6 separate regions of the Homo sapiens genome follow, and all the other regions are linked to region 2. The links are contacts of gene promoters, found by promoter capture Hi-C in blood cells and fetal thymus (Javierre and others, 2016). All regions are on one chromosome and are shown on one strand. Each heading gives the region's core, a stretch centred on a gene start or on the middle of the fragment in contact. The rest is flanking DNA. Distances are from core to core; before and after follow the strand shown.

Region 1 (2,700 bases), core at 31-2,530, 560 kb before region 2:
TTATAATTAATACATAGCCAAAATCTATTCTGTATTAATTATCCTAAACAAATGTATCTTTATAGTACAGTATAGTATTAAAATCTTAGAGTATAATACTTCAATAAATTAGCCCATTGGACACTAAAATTTCTGGAAAGTTCATGCTGTTTTCCAGATTTCAAGTTTATGAATCATTTCTATACAGATTAGTGCAAAATGATATTAAACCTCCAGACAGAAAACTGATAATTGGACTAACAGTTTCACTTAGAAACATTCTAATGTGAGTATTTGCTGACTGGGCACTATTTAATGAAACTCTTTCAAAATTTTAATGATTGCACAAAGTATTTTTAGAACTTTATAAAGGTTTTCATTCTATAGTCATCAAAGGTAGCAAAAAGCCACAAGTGCCCTAACACCTTTCCTGCGTTCTACTAGAGTCATATTCTGAATCAAAAGGAAATTTTGTAAAAGCATATACCCCAGTGGATATTAGGCAAGCCAGGACAATACGAGTATAATAGCTACACTGAAAGAGGTATAATCAACTGTATCATTTAGTTATTTAAGAAAGGATTCTAGAAAAGGTTTTTGAAGAAACTAGAAATCTCACTGTGCAGTAGAAATGTGTAAAGTAAGTTACTCTTTGTCCCAATCTAAGGAAATTTAGCTATTGAAATCCCAAAATACTCTTATTATACATTTTTTATTAAATAATAATCTTACAATGAATTCCATGGATAGCAGTACAATATAGCCAAAAAGAAACTCAAGGAGTTCTGCTTCTGTTTAGGAGAAATATAACAGATAATACTTTCATCATAACAGCCAGAAAAGGCCAGATAAACTAAACAATCATATTTTCTAAAACATCAGAAAGCTTTACTTTAGGTAAAAAGTAATGTAAAGAAACTAAATTCCAAAGAGGAACAAGTTCTTCCTAGGTGAGCAGAGATGAGTGGCCATTTTCTTCTTTGGGGTCATCTGTCATGTCTGGACATATGTAGGCAGAGATCAAGTCTAAAATAGAGAGCTCCTACTAGGATAAAAAGAATCTTCTTGAAATGCTCCCTTTTAGAATCCTGAGCTACTATATTGAGAGGTCTGACTACCCTGCTGAGAGACTGTGTAGGGAGAAAGAGATACCAGCCAGCTCCCAGATGTTTCAGCTATCTTATCTGACACACCAGACATGTGAGTGAAGCTACCCTGGATTTCTAGCCCCAGTTGGGCATTCAGATACATGCTACTATATGATTCACCCCAGGAAAGACAAGCGGAAGAACCACTCAGCTGTGCCCAGCCACGATTGCAGAGTAATGAGCAAATAAATGAAGTGGTTTGTTATGCTATAATAGAAAACTGCTAGACCTTTTACTATGGTGTACAGATTAGAGTGTGTGTGTGTGTGTGTGTGTGTGTGTGTGTGTTTCATTTACTTCCTCTCATATGCTAGATCTACATAGCATCAAGAAAAAGTATTATGTAATGTTTGTTATAATCCAAAAAATAAAAACGCTACAAACCACTAGGTTAATTCCATGGGTTTCTTTATCCAGTTACATATACACATCTATGTAAGAAGATACGTTATTATAATATATTGATATTACAACATAATATCACAATTCTCTACTCCATAATTTTTCTTGGTAGATATCTTATGAAGTAAGTTGGTTCATCATGAAATGTTACCAACTGTTAAAATAGAAAGCTTGGGGAAAGCATATCTTAAAAGTAAAATGTTTTTATATGTCGGACCAAGGTGGCTTGTCTGTAAAGACATATTGTTTAGCTTTATTCTTTTTTCTCTATATAAACATTCATTCTCTTACCTTCATCCTTTTCAAAGGATTATTCAACTCTCGCTGGAATGAAGCTGCTCTTCCTGAAAGGAAGGTCTGAAAGGCAACAGCTAACAAATTTTCATACTTTTCAAGTAATGCTTTATCTTCAGGAGGATAAATTCGTCTACAACAAAATCAGATAAACCAATTTTTTAAAAAGAAGCTGTCGTAGCTCAATAGTTAACATCAACTCCATAGACAATCCTTGACCATCTATTCTATACCAGTCACATTGCCAGGTATAAGCATTTCTATACTGATTAGTGCAAAATGATATTAAATATTAAACCTCCAGACAGAAAACTGATAACTGGCCTAATAGATTCACTTAGTAACTTTCTAATGTGAGTATTTGCTGACTGGGCACTAATTAATAAAATTCTTTCAAAACTTTAATGATTGCACAAGAGTATTTTTAGAACTTTATGAAGGTTTTCAGTCTATTCATTAATAGTGGCACAAATCCACAAACAAAGTTTATCTAGAGAATTAGCATTAAACAATGCAGTTCCAGAAGGTACAGTATAAGGGTTTAGTTGGGGGGAAATGGTTGGGGAAGAATGGTGATTGGGCAAATTGGAGAAATACTGAACTTTATAGGAGAGTGTTCAGGTAATAAGGGATACTGCAGGAGTGTTTTTACTTAGTGTGGTTACTGAAGTATACAAAAATGTAAGCAGTGGTTCTGATGATCTCTTTTGTAGTGGTGGAATTTGCCTCTCTAGTAGAGAGAAGTGGGTAGAGGTAGAGTGGGAGGAATGTGTTCTTATCACTACTGTTGATGGTGTTAAGGCCATGAAAGAACATCTTACCATGAGTGCAAGAACGCCCTCACACATTCCTTTATCCTGCTCAGGCAATGTCAAAA
Region 2 (2,700 bases), core at 80-2,579:
CCACTATCATTTCTTCCCTTCTTCCACACACCCTGCCCCTGCATAGGCTCTTCTCAAAAGAAGATTCTGAATGACGCTTTTACTTTATTTTTATTTATTTTTTTGAGAGGGTCTCACCCTCTCACCCAGGCTGGAATGCAGTGGCACCAACATGGCTCATTGCAACCTAGCCTTCCAGGCTCAATGGATCCTACTGCCTCAGCCTCCTGAGTAGCTGGGACCACAGATGTACACCATGCCCAAACAGATATATATATTTTTTTACTTTTTGTAGACATGGGGTCTCACAGTGTTGCCAAAGCTGGTCTTGAACTCCCAGGCTCAAGCAATCCTCCTGCCTTGGCCTCCCAAAGTGCTAAAATTACAGGCATGGGCCACTGCACCAGCCTGATACTTTTAAGATGTTAAGATCATACCATTCTTTTCCTCAAAATTCTATAAGAGATCTTCATCTCACATAAAATAAAAGCCAAAGTCCTTACAAAACTCTACACCACCTGTCCAATCTCAACACTTCTTGCCTTTCCTGGCTTGCTACTGACTAGGAGCATTGGAGCTGGCTGTTTGCTTTGCCAGGACAGCTTTTCTCCTTGATAACCAGCTTTTCTCAGATTAACAGCTCTTCCCTCAGATAACTAGTTTAGCCCATTACCTCCTTCAAACCTTGGCTCAATGTAACGTTTTCAATGAAGCCTACTCTGAGAATCCTATTTAAAATTGCAACGTACTTTGGGAGTCCAGGGCGGACAGATCACCTGAAATCAAGAGTACAAGACCAGCCTGGCCAACATGGTGAAACTCCATCTCTGCAAAAATACAAAAATTAGCCGGGCATGGTGGCACGTGTTTGTAGTCCCAGCTACTCAGGAGGAGGAGTTTGCAGTGATCGGAGATCGTGCCACTGCACTCCAGCCTGGGCATTAAAGCAAGGCTCCGTCTCAAAAAGATGAATGTCTCTTCATCTTCTTTTATCCTGTTCTATTTTTTTTCCATACCATGTCTTACTCTGTAGCTCACCATAATTTATTTGTATGCTCATTTTAGGTTTCCCTCAAGTAAAACGTAAACTAATCCAGGCACGGTTTTTGTTGTTGTTCCATTATTTTGAGGGCTGGGCACATAGATGCGCAAGGAGTGCCCAAACTCATCATCTCACTCTTTATACAGCTGGGCAAACTGCCTAAAGTTTCCTCAAGCCTCAGCTTTACTATTTTCTTGAATGGCTAAAACTCACAAAACACATCTAGCGTCAAAAACTTTGCGACCCCGGAAGTAAAAGGTTAAGGAAGGGGGTCACAGGAGAAGGCTATTTCCGTTTCCGTACGGAAGCAAAGGAGCCAAGACCATGGCGAAAGCCGGGGATAAGAGCAGCAGCAGCGGGAAGAAAAGTCTAAAACGGAAAGCCGCTGCCGAAGAACTTCAGGAGGCTGCAGGCGCTGGGGATGGGGCGACGGAAAACGGGGTCCAACCCCCGAAAGCGGCTGCCTTTCCGCCAGGCTTTAGCATTTCGGAGATTAAAAACAAACAGCGGCGACACTTAATGTTCACGCGGTGGAAACAGCAGCAGCGGAAGGTACGCGAGAGGCGGGGGCTGCCGGGCGCTTGCGCGTTGTTCCTGACGCTTAGGGCGGTCGCGGGGCGCACATCTGTGGTTGTCTGCTGGTCTCAAAAGTGTTCTCTGTGGCTCCGTGGGAAGGGTGGCGTCGCGGCCCACGTGTTCTGGTCCCCTCGCCCTAGTTTGGAGACTCTAGGTTCAGCCTTTTGCCTGAGCGTCAAGGTGGAAGATTATCTTGATAGGCTCTTTCCTGGGACGCTAGATTCACAAGGAAAGCTGTAAGGCCAGTTGGCTTAGTAGTGAAAACTACGCCCTCCTGGCCCAGAAGGCAAAAGTCTCAGCCCTTTGGTCCGTCTAGGTAGCGTTGGTTAATTTGCAGAATCTGAAATGGAGGCAATACGTAATAAATCCAAAATACTGCTTCTCTGATTCCTGCAGGAGCTCCTTACCGAAATTAGTACTGTAAAGTTTCTGGTAATTGTATTTGTTCTTTTCAGCTTTATCCTTATACGTTTCTGGTAGGTAAACAAACTGAAACGTAAAGAGGTTTAAACGACTTGTCAAGGTCGCAGTGCTCATTTCTGGTTAAATTGCAATTGGAAGAAAACGTTTGCTTATTCTTGCACATCGTAGAAGTTCACACAATATTATTATTATGTGTCTGCCTCCTCTTACTGGCCCTTCTGAGGCCCGGGACTGGTTCTTACTCATGTTCAGTGTCAAGGTGCTGTTTCAATACATACAAGGGGCGTTTAACTCATTCTGGTATGCACGTATTGGGGAGGGATGTCCTGGAAGACTTATTGGAGCTATGATTTCTAATCTGAAACCTGGTGGATTGAGGATCAGTAGGTGCTGGGGAAAAAAGAATATTTTTTATTTTGTCAAGCATTCTATCTAGAAATCTCCAGAAGAATATATAGATTGACAATACAAATACAGATAATCTTAAGCCACCTTGCAAGCTCTTACTAAATTTTAGAAGTATATTTTGATTATAAAATATGTGAATAACTGGTGATGGTTTTATGGAAAACAACCTGAAAACTCAGCTCCCATTCCTATTTTTAGTGCTTTTCAAGAGAAGCAAGCAGCATAACCATGGTCGTCTTTAGGATGCCACCAGTTAGGCAAAACAAAACACA
Region 3 (2,700 bases), core at 162-2,661, 530 kb before region 2:
ACACCAAGGTAAAATTACAAATCCTGGTACTTTAAAAAGTCCCCAATTAATTTTTAATACTTTAAAAATATTAACAGTAATGATGTATAACACCTCCATATTTTGTAACATAGTTAAGTCAATTTCCCTACCTCCTTCTTGAGGCAGAGATGGCATTATTGCCTGTGCTGATTAGCAAGCAGTGTGTGCTGCTGTACCAAGCTCTCAGGAAATCTGGAAATTCCACATTAGTCTAAGTAGGATATGGCCCCAAATCACTGAAAGTTCTTATCATATTATCTTGGTGGAATCCTCAGATTTCAGGATACCAAAGTTATGGGATAACAAGGTACCTGCAGTGATTTTAAAACAAGGTCATTTAGAAAAAACTTTTTTGAATTTTTTTTCATATATGCCAAGACTATTCTTTTTAAAAGTCAAGGTGAAAGTTAATGTGTTCAATCAACAAATAATTGTAAATCGGTTTATTAAACCTTACGCAAAATGCCAAGTGATGCTTTCCTATCCTGAAAGAATGCATAGTCTAGGGGAAGAAGTTTTATTAAGTCACGTGTCACATGTATATTCAATAAATAATATACTATACACAAACAATAACAGCAATAACAATATTCACTACTATTTATTGAACACTTATTATCTTAGGCATTTATATTATACCATTTAATCTTTCAACAAACCTGTAAGGTAGAAGCTTTTATCCCCATCTTACAGATAAGTTGAGCTTAGAAAGGACAAATTATTTTGTGTATCTTTACAAAGAAAATTACAACACAGAGATTAAAATGAAGATTCTTCTAATGTCAATGCCAGAGTGTCTTATTTAGAAACCCACACAACCTTCAACCCAATGCCTGAAACACTGCTTTTAATATGAGACAGTGAAAAGTGCCAGGCAGGGTAGAGGTCACATGTTGACAGAATGCAGAGAAGTGATTCCTATATAAAGGATTATGGGGGACAACTTAATAAAGTAAACCACATCTTGAATTGTGCCTTAAAAAATGAGAACAGTTTTGAAGGACAGAAAATGGGTGGGGTCATTATTATGATGATTTTATTCAGGCACACAGAGGAATGCAACAATCAATGAATTAATTTGATCTGGCTACATCTCAACATGGCCTATAGTACACTTTGCTTGTATTTTCATTGTAAATATATGAACGTAGGCATTTATGCCCTAACAATACCATATTGTTCAGTCTGTACTATCAACTTTCTAATTTCTCCTTATTGTAAGAATCCTTCAGTTCTTGTAAAATATCTATAAACACAATGAAAAATAAAACCTATTATGATAAGCAAAGGTATAATATCAACACCTTTATTAGATTGTCAAGTTTATCAGAAATTCAGAAACATCCAACATTCAGCTACATAAAACGTGAGTCCTATATCACTCCAAATATTCATTATTATTAATGTTTCAATATTAAAGAAAATTTAGGGTTTTATTTGTTCTCAGGTATCATTTTTACTAAAATGATTGTCTAGTATAATTCAATATCAAAACGGGGAACTTTTATTTATTACAGACCAACTGTAGGTAGGCATTTTATTAAGCATTTTAAATATTTTATTTCATTAACAAACTTTAAATTTAGGTATCATTTCTCCCTATTTTCCAGAAAAAGAAACTAAGGCTAGATAAGTTAAACAAATCAAGGTAACATGGCTTAGAAATAGAAAACTTAGACTTTAAACCCAATTCTAATTATTCTATTCATTAAGCTCCCCTATTTTCAGACCCCATGCTAACATAATATATAGACATATGAGAAGTTTCCAACCCTACTGCAGTACATGCCGCAAGATATGGCCATATTCTGGGAATTTGCAATACTTCAAACAGTGAATTCACAGTAAAACATCTCTAAACTGATCTCAGCTCCCAATGCCAAGCTGGAAACAGACTGGATCACTTCTCAGAATAAAAGAAAGGAGTAGTGTAAAGTTTAGTTCAGTTTCTTTCTGGAGGCTCTCTGAAACCTCAGGGAAGTAACTATTTGAGTTTACAAGTTTTTTGTCCAACATCTTGTTACTGGAGTAAACAAAGATCCCCTTTACAGTAACAGAATACTTATTACATTGAAAGTAGGTGACAAAGTCAACAAGACTTTAAAAACAAGCTTCACCTAACTATACTAGATTCTAAAAACAAATTTGTTAGTTTTTGACTTAAATAATAAGTCAAATGGCTGATTTGTACAGAGTTCAAAACAAGAACTTTTATCCCTTCCCCAAGGCATACAGGAATTTAAAGTTCTTAAAATTATACTATGCATATATGCGCTTTACTTAATTCCATTTATGCCTTAGTCAAAGTGCTTTAACAAACTCAAGGACTTCATTCAACCATGGCAATTCTAATCAGCTTTATTCTAAGCAAGAGATTTGAGATGACGGATTTATCCCACCACTCATTTGAAACCATAGTTACCTACTTTCCAAAAGCAGAAAACATGTTTCAGTTACCTCTGAAATGCTTTAAGCCAATGGCTTCTCAACCTTGGCTGCAAAGCAGAATTGCCTGAATGAGGAGCTTTTGAAAATCCTGCTGTCCAGGCCACACCCCAGAACTAAGTGGGGCCCAACCATCAGCATTTCTAAAGCTCTTCATGTGATTCCAGTGCAGCTAAGGTTGAGAACCTCTACTGTAAGCACACGATGACAATGCAACAAATAATAGCTAATTAT
Region 4 (2,700 bases), core at 3-2,502, 770 kb after region 2:
TGCAAGTGAAAGTGAGCAATTTTTTTTTTCAATTGCAGCCATACAAAATTCACAAAGTAACTCTTTAGGTGCTATACTAAGGTAGCTTAAAATAAGTGACTTTACTTCCCCCAAATCAGACTTTTGAAAAAGGCTCCCAAATACTCAGCAAGCTTGTCCAACCTGCCTTATTTGTTGTTGTTGTTCTGTTTTGTTTTAGGCTTTTAGCAGCCTGAAGCCATGGTTTTTAGTTTCTGTCTCTAGTGATAAGCAGAAAAGAAGGATGATGAAGGGGCTTTATTGGCCCAACCAATAACAGAAACTAAGAACTCATGACTGTATTCTCTCCCTTGGACACCACTGCATGATAGTATTTACATTGTATATATTAAAATACAATCAATGCTTTGTAAGAATGGAGCATATTGTTTTCTTTTTACAAAAAATAGGTATCACTCTAACGATGACATTATTTAAGTGGCTATCAGCTGTCCTTTTCCTTTCAATCTGCTTTCTCTCCTCCAAAAACAACTTCTTCTGCCCCATCACCTTCTCCACCCACCCCAAATCCTTATTTTGAGGTTAAAAAGCACTCACAAGTAGGTTTCCCCAAACCTCTATTTGGAATTTTATTCTAGTAAGTTCTAATTCCCATCCCCGCCCTCCCCATCCCCACTCCCACGATGGCCAGAACATTTTAATGGCAACAGAAAAATACATATCTTCCTACTTCATATTATGGAGAATTTGGAGAGGGGAGGGAGGTTAGAGAAGAGCCTTACATTAAAACAATGTTCTTTACACCTTTCCAAAATGTTAATAGTATCTGTAGCCACAGAAAATTTCCAATTCATAAAAATGTTGTCAAACCTGGAAAAGTGAACTCTTTTATTGTATTTTAAAAAATCCAACTACATGGTTAAAAAAAAAATACAGGGTAGCACAGACTAGTTGCTAATTCCATCTCCCTAAGCAAATGTGTGGTATTAAGAACTCCATATAGACAGAGTAACATGGAAAAGATGTTATGATTTATAAAATACAAATTTATTTTGAGCACATTACTAATTAATTGTAGCTTTTGACTTTATTTTCTTGATCAACAGATACTCAAAAAGTTCAACAGGTTATCATGTGGAGATCTATAAAATATCTTGATATTGAAAGGAGCCTTCATTATTAAAAAATGTGAGGAACTACTGACATCAAATCATAAATTCCTTGAAGGAAATATTAAAATCTTAAGCCTTCAATTCCCTTCTGCTGACTGTACCATAATCAGAATATCTCATTTATTGATGCAGATAACAATCAATACCATTCATCTTCACTCCCCTTCAAGCACAGCACGGTGATGTTATTCATATGCTTCACAGAGCACTATGGATTTATGTAGGCAGTGGAATAAAATACAATTCAGATCAACTCACCCCAGGAATTTACAAATCAAAGTTTTAATCAGTAGTTCATCATGTTCATACAAAAACACTGGCTCCACAAACCAAATAACATGGTATACCACCAAAACAAGCCAAACGTTTTGCTTTTTTTTTTTTTTGAGATGGAGTCTTGCTCTGTTGCCCAGGATGGAGTGCAGTGGCACCATCTCAGCTCATTGTAATCTCCACCTCCCAGGTTCACGCCATTCTCCTGCCTCAGCCTCCCAAGCAGCTGGGACTACAGGTGCCTGCCATCACACCCAGCTAATTTTTTGTATTTTTAGTAGAGACGGGGTTTCACGGTGTTAACCAGGATGGTCTCTATCTCCTGACCTCGTGATCCACCCACCTCGGCCTCCCAAAGTGCTGGGATTACAGGCGTGAGCCACCGCACCCGGCACCTTTTGCTTTTTAACGAGTTAATTATCACTAAGCTCCTCTTTTGAGATTTTCAGTAGTGATAATATAAAAATGGAAAGTACTAAGTTTACTATAATATTCACTATGCATTAGCATACATTTAGATGATACTGAGATATTTTTGCTTTTAATTTGCCACTTATTACAAGTAAATTAACTGAATAACAAAACCACAAACTACTGAAGTTAAAAAGTAACTGGCTATCAGTGATTTGAGCAGAAGTGCTATGCCATCTAGTGTCATGACAAGGCATTGCTTTATAAACTAGAGTAGGAAAAAATCTGAGCAATGTTCATTTATCAATTTTACTGAGCTTTTTTACTCGGTCTCATATAGTATAGATGTACTGGTAAGGAAACAATTTTTTTATTATGGAACTCAAATCACTCAAGTAAGTTTAACTTATCAATAGACAAACTTTCTAAATTCTAAAAAGTGTAAACTAAAAATCACTATATTAATTATGCTTTTACAATTAATTATTATACATGTCAATAAAGCTACAACTAATAACTAAGCTTTGCTTACCTACATTTTACAACCACTAAAACCAGAAGTGGCAGGGTGCGGTGGCTCACACCTGTAATCCCAGCACTTTGGGAGGCTGAAGCGGGCGGATCACGAGGTCAGGAGATCGAGACCACCCTGGCCAACATGCTGAAACCCCATCTCCACTAAAAATACAAAAATTAGCTGGGCGTGGTGGCGTGTGCCTGTAGTCCCAGCTACTTGGCAGGCTGAGGCAGGAGAATCGCTTGAACCCGGGAGGCGGAGGTTGCAGTGAGCCGAGATCACACCACTGCACTCCAGCCTGGGCGACAGAGCGAGACTCCATCTCAAAAAAAAAAAAAAACCCGAAGG
Region 5 (2,700 bases), core at 74-2,573, 580 kb before region 2:
ACACGCATTCCTCTTTGCTTCTCTTTGCTTTCAGTTTTCAAGGAGCCTCCGCAAGAAGGCAAGCTTTGGTCCTCGGAGACCCACCCCTATAATTTGGAGGGCATGGAACAACAGACTGAGGGAACAGGAACCCAAATCCTTCAACTCTCCTCTGAGTCTTCACATAAGCTCCTTCCTCTGCCTGAAACAGTCTTCTCCTATCTCTTCATCTGATAAACTTCTATGTTTCACTTCAAATGCCACTTCTAAGGAAAACTTTACCTGCCACTGAACTATTGTTTGATATCTTAATGCCCAGTTCTTCCTTTATTAGCAAGCACCTTATTTTATTTTAATTTCCTGTTTAATTAATGGAGACTGTTATGCATATAAAGGGAGTAAACTGTGCCCATCTTGATAATAAAGTTACCAGGTCCCCAAGGCTTAAGACAAGGTCTATCATTTAGTAGGTTCCTGTCTTAGTAAGTCATTCCTTGCAAGAAAGTCACACCTATGTAGACAAGGTAAAAAATCATTGAGAGAACTTACCATGTGCCAAGCACTGTTCTAAGCACTTTTACATATATTAACTCATTTAGTCCTCAAAACAAAAACATGAGGTAGATACTATTGGTCCACAGTCCCTTTCCAAAAATCTCAAGCTTAGATTCCATAATCATACATATTATTAATTCTGCAGGAAAAAAATGTAAATATTCAAACCAAGAGATAGACAAAATCAATACATAACTTCTTGTCAGGTCATTGTCACCAAATGAATTCAGGTAGGTTAGGTTTTGCTGCCTAGGGGTTATGAAAATTTTTTTGGTCGTGAAAACATTTTGGATCCCCATTTTATGGATGAGAAAACTCAGGCACAAAGCAGATAAGTAACTTGCCCAAGATTACCCAGCTCATTGTATCCAGACCTACGCTCTTAACTACATCCAGCACTGCCTCACAATTTAGATTTTCCAGATGCCAGCAGCAAAAGCCTAGAGAGAACCCCATTATCTCTTCTTAGATTCAGATTCATTTCTAGTCAAATGGTATTTGGGAGGAGAGTGGGATCACTGTGTAAAAACAAGGTTGCCTAGGCACCCCCTCCTTTATGGCCACGGAGTAAGGAATAGTTTGTTTAGAAGGCTATACAGATGGGGAGACAATGACTGTACTTTTAGCCAAATACTCACTTAATAATTTTAAGAAAGCACAGACCAGGCAGGCAAGAAATCAGACTGGAATGAGATAAATTAGTGCTAGTTCTACCTGTGATGCTTTTTTGGATTTCTGGTCCTTTGGGGATTGAAGAAATTGGATGGAAGATGAATAATTCGTGAAACACAAAAATAAATGATCAGCAAGGTGCCCTTGTGTTATCTGTGGGCTTACGTGAGGCTAATTTATAGAATATAGGTATCCATTTCCTTACATTATGACTTTTAAAAGCATCCCAATCCAACATTAAGCTCTCCAAGGGAAAAAACAAATGGGAGATTCAGTCAATGACAACATTAATAAAATGAAAAGATTTGTCTTTTCCATGTGAAATATAGCACATTTGAAGGCATAAAGCACACAGACAAATTCATATTTTGCAAAAGCATACAGATGTTGAATGACAAACTGCTCCATATGGCCGAACAGTTGGTCCTAAATTAAAATAATGGCACGAGGTGAAGGCGGTTTAGAAATAACATTAAAATCACTACATGCTGTACTAATGATGCATGCAGCAGCGATGGCTATAGGGTAAAGGCATCTTTGCTGATGCAAAACGAACAGCTCTGAACAGCATCTATGTCAGCCTGAATAAAACAGAGACGGAAAATAGTATCATCAAAATGCATGCAGAAGCAGCCACAGTAGGTATTAAAAATAAATTGCTATTTAGAGAAGTAATACTTGATAAACAAGGACCTCTTAGCACCCTAAAATAAATGCAAATACAGTACAACCTTAATGTCATTAGTTATTTCTCTTCATCCTCCACTCTTAGTTTATGTTTAGGTATCACATCAGATAATAAGCTTTTCAGCAAATCTGGCATTCTTTGCAGCCCACCAACATGACTATATTTTCATACTTCATATATATTCCTCACAAACTATATAAAGCAACTGCATTCTTGGCAGAAAGCTAAATTATGCAAGTATGGAGTTACCACAACATGACATTAAATAAGATTAACTATTTCCATTTTCACCTGGTGAGGGTTCTTTTCAGGATTTAATTCCCATACCCTTGATCTTTACATTTTACATCCATTAAGGAAAATTTGAAGGCAAATAATTTTTTTTTAATTTCCAAGAACAGAAAAAAGGAAAGCATGTGAAAGACTCTGTGTGTATGTCATTCTAATCTTGGAGCTTTACAACAGGCTAATAACCACAAATGCCTCAATCCTGGAACAGGAAAAGTGGTATATATATTTCCATAATGGTCTCTAAATGGAATTAAGATACTTAAATAAGAGTCTTGTGCTTCCATACCTTGAATAGTGCCTGGGGCATGGTAGTCCCTCAATAAATATCTGTTGAATGCATGATTAAGTGAGCAAATAAATGAATGAGTAAACAACTCTCAAAATCCCTAACAGTGTCTAGCATATTATTTGTATAAAATTGGCAATCAATAAATGTTTGTTAAATTAAAATGTATCACGCACAGCCTTTGTGGCAGCCATGGAGATGTGCCACTTAAATTAACATGTTTCAAAGA
Region 6 (2,700 bases), core at 171-2,670, 520 kb after region 2:
ATGATCATTCTTGACTTTCAGTTCTGTATTTCGTGCCCCTTTGCTCAAACTATGTCTCTCAGTTCTTCTCACTTGCTTCATTAAAATATTTTATATCTATTACTCTATTTTTTTAAAAAAAAACACTTTTGATATGTTCCTCCTTCACAGAAAAGAATGTGGCTACCTCAAACACTTTATTAGGATTCACTCATTTTTTATTACAGGAGGTTAAATAAAATTGGTATTATGATGGCCTCTGTATGGAAAATGTGTCGTTTTTAGAGTTCCGGCCACAGAAACTGACCTATGAACGGTTTTCTAAAGGAGAAGGGTGTGCCTGTGGAAAGTTCACGGCAACGGGAGTTTGACTCCTCTTAAGGTATGAAGAGGAAGACAGGCTAAAGTCTCAAGAAACTTCTGACTCAATAGGGGAAAGCTATCAAATTTCCCAAAAGTTGTGCGATTTTGGTTAGCACATCACAAAGGTGATGAGCAGCTCCTGAGAGTGAAACCCACATCCCATTTCTGGGGAGAACTACGTAGTTGGTTCCCTCTACATAAAATATCAGAGTCTACATCCTGACACCCATAAGAAACCTCTCCCACCTTTCTCTTACTAACCTTTTCTTCCATTCTCAGTTTACAATGACACACAATTTTGTTTCCCACAAGTACCGTTCAACCAGAGACACACACACTTACACATACGTATATATTTCATATATATATATATATATATATATATATATATATATATGTTTGGAGAGCAGGAAACGGGGGAGCCAAGGTCTGTTTGTACTCACAACTTTGGCTCAACTGTGCTGGGGTGGCTGGAGGTTTGACCACGGAGGAGGGGCCCGCTGGCAGCGCCAACCGGCTGAACTGTGCGCCTTTTCATAAAGGCCGAGGAACTGGGGTTAGCCACACTACAACCCTCCCACCTGAGGGAAAGGCCTGTTTGTTCTGGAAGGCACAGCCTAGCCTTATTTAACTAACTGCAAGCAGTTAATATAAGCATTCCCAAGGCAGCAAGCAAGCTCTAGTCTACGAAAGTAAAGCCATCGACTTTAGGAAGATTTCTCCAGTCCAGCATCCTGAAAGATGAAGCCCAGACTCCTCACCTGACGGTTAACCTGAAAACACCTGATCCTCTCTCCGGAATCCTTGCCTGGGGAAAACGATAAGGCTGCCGGGCCATGCCTCCTCCTTCAAAACTTTCCAGGGCTCTCGGGATTCGGAACAGGAAACACCGTTCACGGCCGACTCATTTCGCCCTCGCCGTAACGCGTCCGCCGAAGTTGGAGCCCTGCAAAGCGGGGTTCCCTTCTCTTACCCTTTCTGCCGGCCGCGTGGTGCGCGCAGACCCCGGCCCGAGAGCAGGCGCCGCAGTCGTGGAGTGCGGCGGGCAGTTCTCGGGCGGCTGAAAGGCGGCTCTGTGTGCACCCTGCAGGATGCGGCGCGTGGCCAGGCGCTCCCGCCCCGCCCCCAAGGGGCTGCCCCGCCCCGCCCCGCCCCGCCGCCTCCTACCGGGGACCGGAGCTTCCCCAGTTGGGGTCCTAGGGGACTTATTCCACGCTTCAGCGGACCAGCCTCCCCGCGCTCCCGGAGAAGGGGGTCGGCGACGCGGAGGCGGGGTGGGGGCCGTAGGGGATGGAACCGAGGCGCGCGCGAGAAGAGCCGAGGAAGTAAGCAGTCCCAAAAGGGGGCGGCGGTGGGGCCCCCAGGGAGGCGTGGGGCACGCCAAGGGCGCCGTGGGGCACTGACCTGTGGTGCGGCCCCCAGGACAGGCCCGAGGCGCGGTTGCACACCGGCAGGTCCAGCACCTCCATGCCTCGAGGCATGGCGCGGCCAGGGAGCGGCAGGAGGACACCTAGCGTGGGACGGCTACACCTGTCTGGGCGCAGGCCCGCCGCCCTTGCACTCTCCACCCAAGTGCCCAACGCTGCGGTACGGCCCGCTTTGGCTCGGGGTGTCTGCCGGAGAAGCGCCTTACAGAGGGACCCGGGCGGTGGGCCCTGCGGCAAAGTGGCCCACGCACCCTCCACACCGCTCCCGGGCGGCCGCACCTGGCACTCCCGGCCCTCTGGGGTTCCTGCCTTTTTCGGGGGGGTGGTGGTGAGACCGGGTCTCACTCTGTCGCCTGACCTGCGATCACTGCTGACTGCAGTCTTGAACTCCTGGACCCAAGCGATTCTCCTGCCTCCGCCTCCCAAAGTGCTAGGATTACAGGTGTAAGCCGCTGCGCCTGGCCCCTTCTTTTCTTCACTCTCTCATGCATTCATTTCTTGTTTCCACATGCATTAATTTGTCCGTTGCTTTGGTCATTCCTGTTTTGATGCTTAGGGAAACACTCACTGAGAGCCAAGCCGACCGTTGGGTACTGTGGTCTCTGGGATGACAAAGACATGGTCCTTTCCCTTGAGGACTTCACATTAAACTGACAAGTTCATTCATTCTGGCTTTTCTCTAAAGTGCACGATCATGAAAGTCTGTGACAAGGGCCATATTTCTGAGATGTTAGAAAGTGCGACCGGCGCGCAAGGAATAGGAAAAGCGAGTTGCCCTGCGCCCGCGTCGGGATGAAAGGCAGGGAGCCGGGAGGGAGCGTCAGCGTGGCCCGGCGGGCGCGGAGGGAGGGCGCACGGCCCCAGGGCTGGACTCGTAACCCCAGCGCCCTGCTGCAGCCGCCGTTGCTTTTCCCTCTTGGTGCACGAAAGG

The links. The method cuts DNA at HindIII sites, captures the fragments that hold promoters and counts their contacts. A CHiCAGO score of 5 or more calls a contact.
Region 1: a contact is called between a fragment that was not itself captured here and the fragment with the promoter of RPF1 in region 2, in 6 of 17 cell types (erythroblasts, megakaryocytes, M2 macrophages and 3 more). The highest score is 11.4, in erythroblasts.
Region 3: a contact is called between a fragment that was not itself captured here and the fragment with the promoter of RPF1 in region 2, in 2 of 17 cell types (erythroblasts and endothelial precursors). The highest score is 6.2, in erythroblasts.
Region 4: a fragment that was not itself captured here is called in contact with the fragment with the promoter of RPF1 in region 2 in 2 of 17 cell types (total CD8 T cells and activated CD4 T cells); the score reaches 5.6 in total CD8 T cells.
Region 5: a fragment that was not itself captured here is called in contact with the fragment with the promoter of RPF1 in region 2 in 2 of 17 cell types (erythroblasts and endothelial precursors); the score reaches 6.4 in erythroblasts.
Region 6: the fragment with the promoter of MCOLN2 here is called in contact with the fragment with the promoter of RPF1 in region 2 in 1 of 17 cell types (naive CD8 T cells); the score reaches 5.9 in naive CD8 T cells.

Annotation. Positions count from the first base shown.
Region 1 is chr1:83,917,879-83,920,578 of GRCh38, forward strand. TTLL7 (tubulin tyrosine ligase like 7) reads right to left here. Exons shown (of 21, transcript NM_024686.6): 13 at 1,821-1,956. Among named protein-coding and RNA genes, the nearest start is that of LINC01725, 58 kb to the left of the region's middle. The HindIII fragment of the contact is 834 bases long and covers 864-1,697 here.
Region 2 is chr1:84,477,937-84,480,636 of GRCh38, forward strand. RPF1 (ribosome production factor 1 homolog) reads left to right here and starts at 1,330. Exons shown (of 9, transcript NM_025065.7): 1 at 1,330-1,573. The coding sequence starts at 1,346. RefSeq lists enhancers at 991-1,551, 1,747-1,906. The HindIII fragment of the contact is 6,088 bases long and covers 1-2,700 here.
Region 3 is chr1:83,952,056-83,954,755 of GRCh38, forward strand. It overlaps TTLL7 (tubulin tyrosine ligase like 7), which reads right to left. Exons shown (of 21, transcript NM_024686.6): 2 at 132-332. The coding sequence starts at 156. Among named protein-coding and RNA genes, the nearest start is that of TTLL7-IT1, 31 kb to the right of the region's middle. The HindIII fragment of the contact is 1,438 bases long and covers 693-2,130 here.
Region 4 is chr1:85,252,873-85,255,572 of GRCh38, forward strand. The region is part of intron 2 of C1orf52 (chromosome 1 open reading frame 52); the gene reads right to left. Among named protein-coding and RNA genes, the nearest start is that of C1orf52, 5.4 kb to the right of the region's middle. The HindIII fragment of the contact is 2,205 bases long and covers 151-2,355 here.
Region 5 is chr1:83,894,828-83,897,527 of GRCh38, forward strand. All of the region lies in intron 18 of TTLL7 (tubulin tyrosine ligase like 7), which reads right to left. Among named protein-coding and RNA genes, the nearest start is that of LINC01725, 35 kb to the left of the region's middle. The HindIII fragment of the contact is 1,368 bases long and covers 640-2,007 here.
Region 6 is chr1:84,995,693-84,998,392 of GRCh38, forward strand. MCOLN2 (mucolipin TRP cation channel 2) reads right to left here and starts at 1,421. Exons shown (of 14, transcript NM_153259.4): 1 at 1,104-1,421. The coding sequence starts at 1,180. RefSeq lists silencers at 764-813, 1,424-1,713 and an enhancer at 2,284-2,700. The HindIII fragment of the contact is 4,780 bases long and covers 1-2,700 here.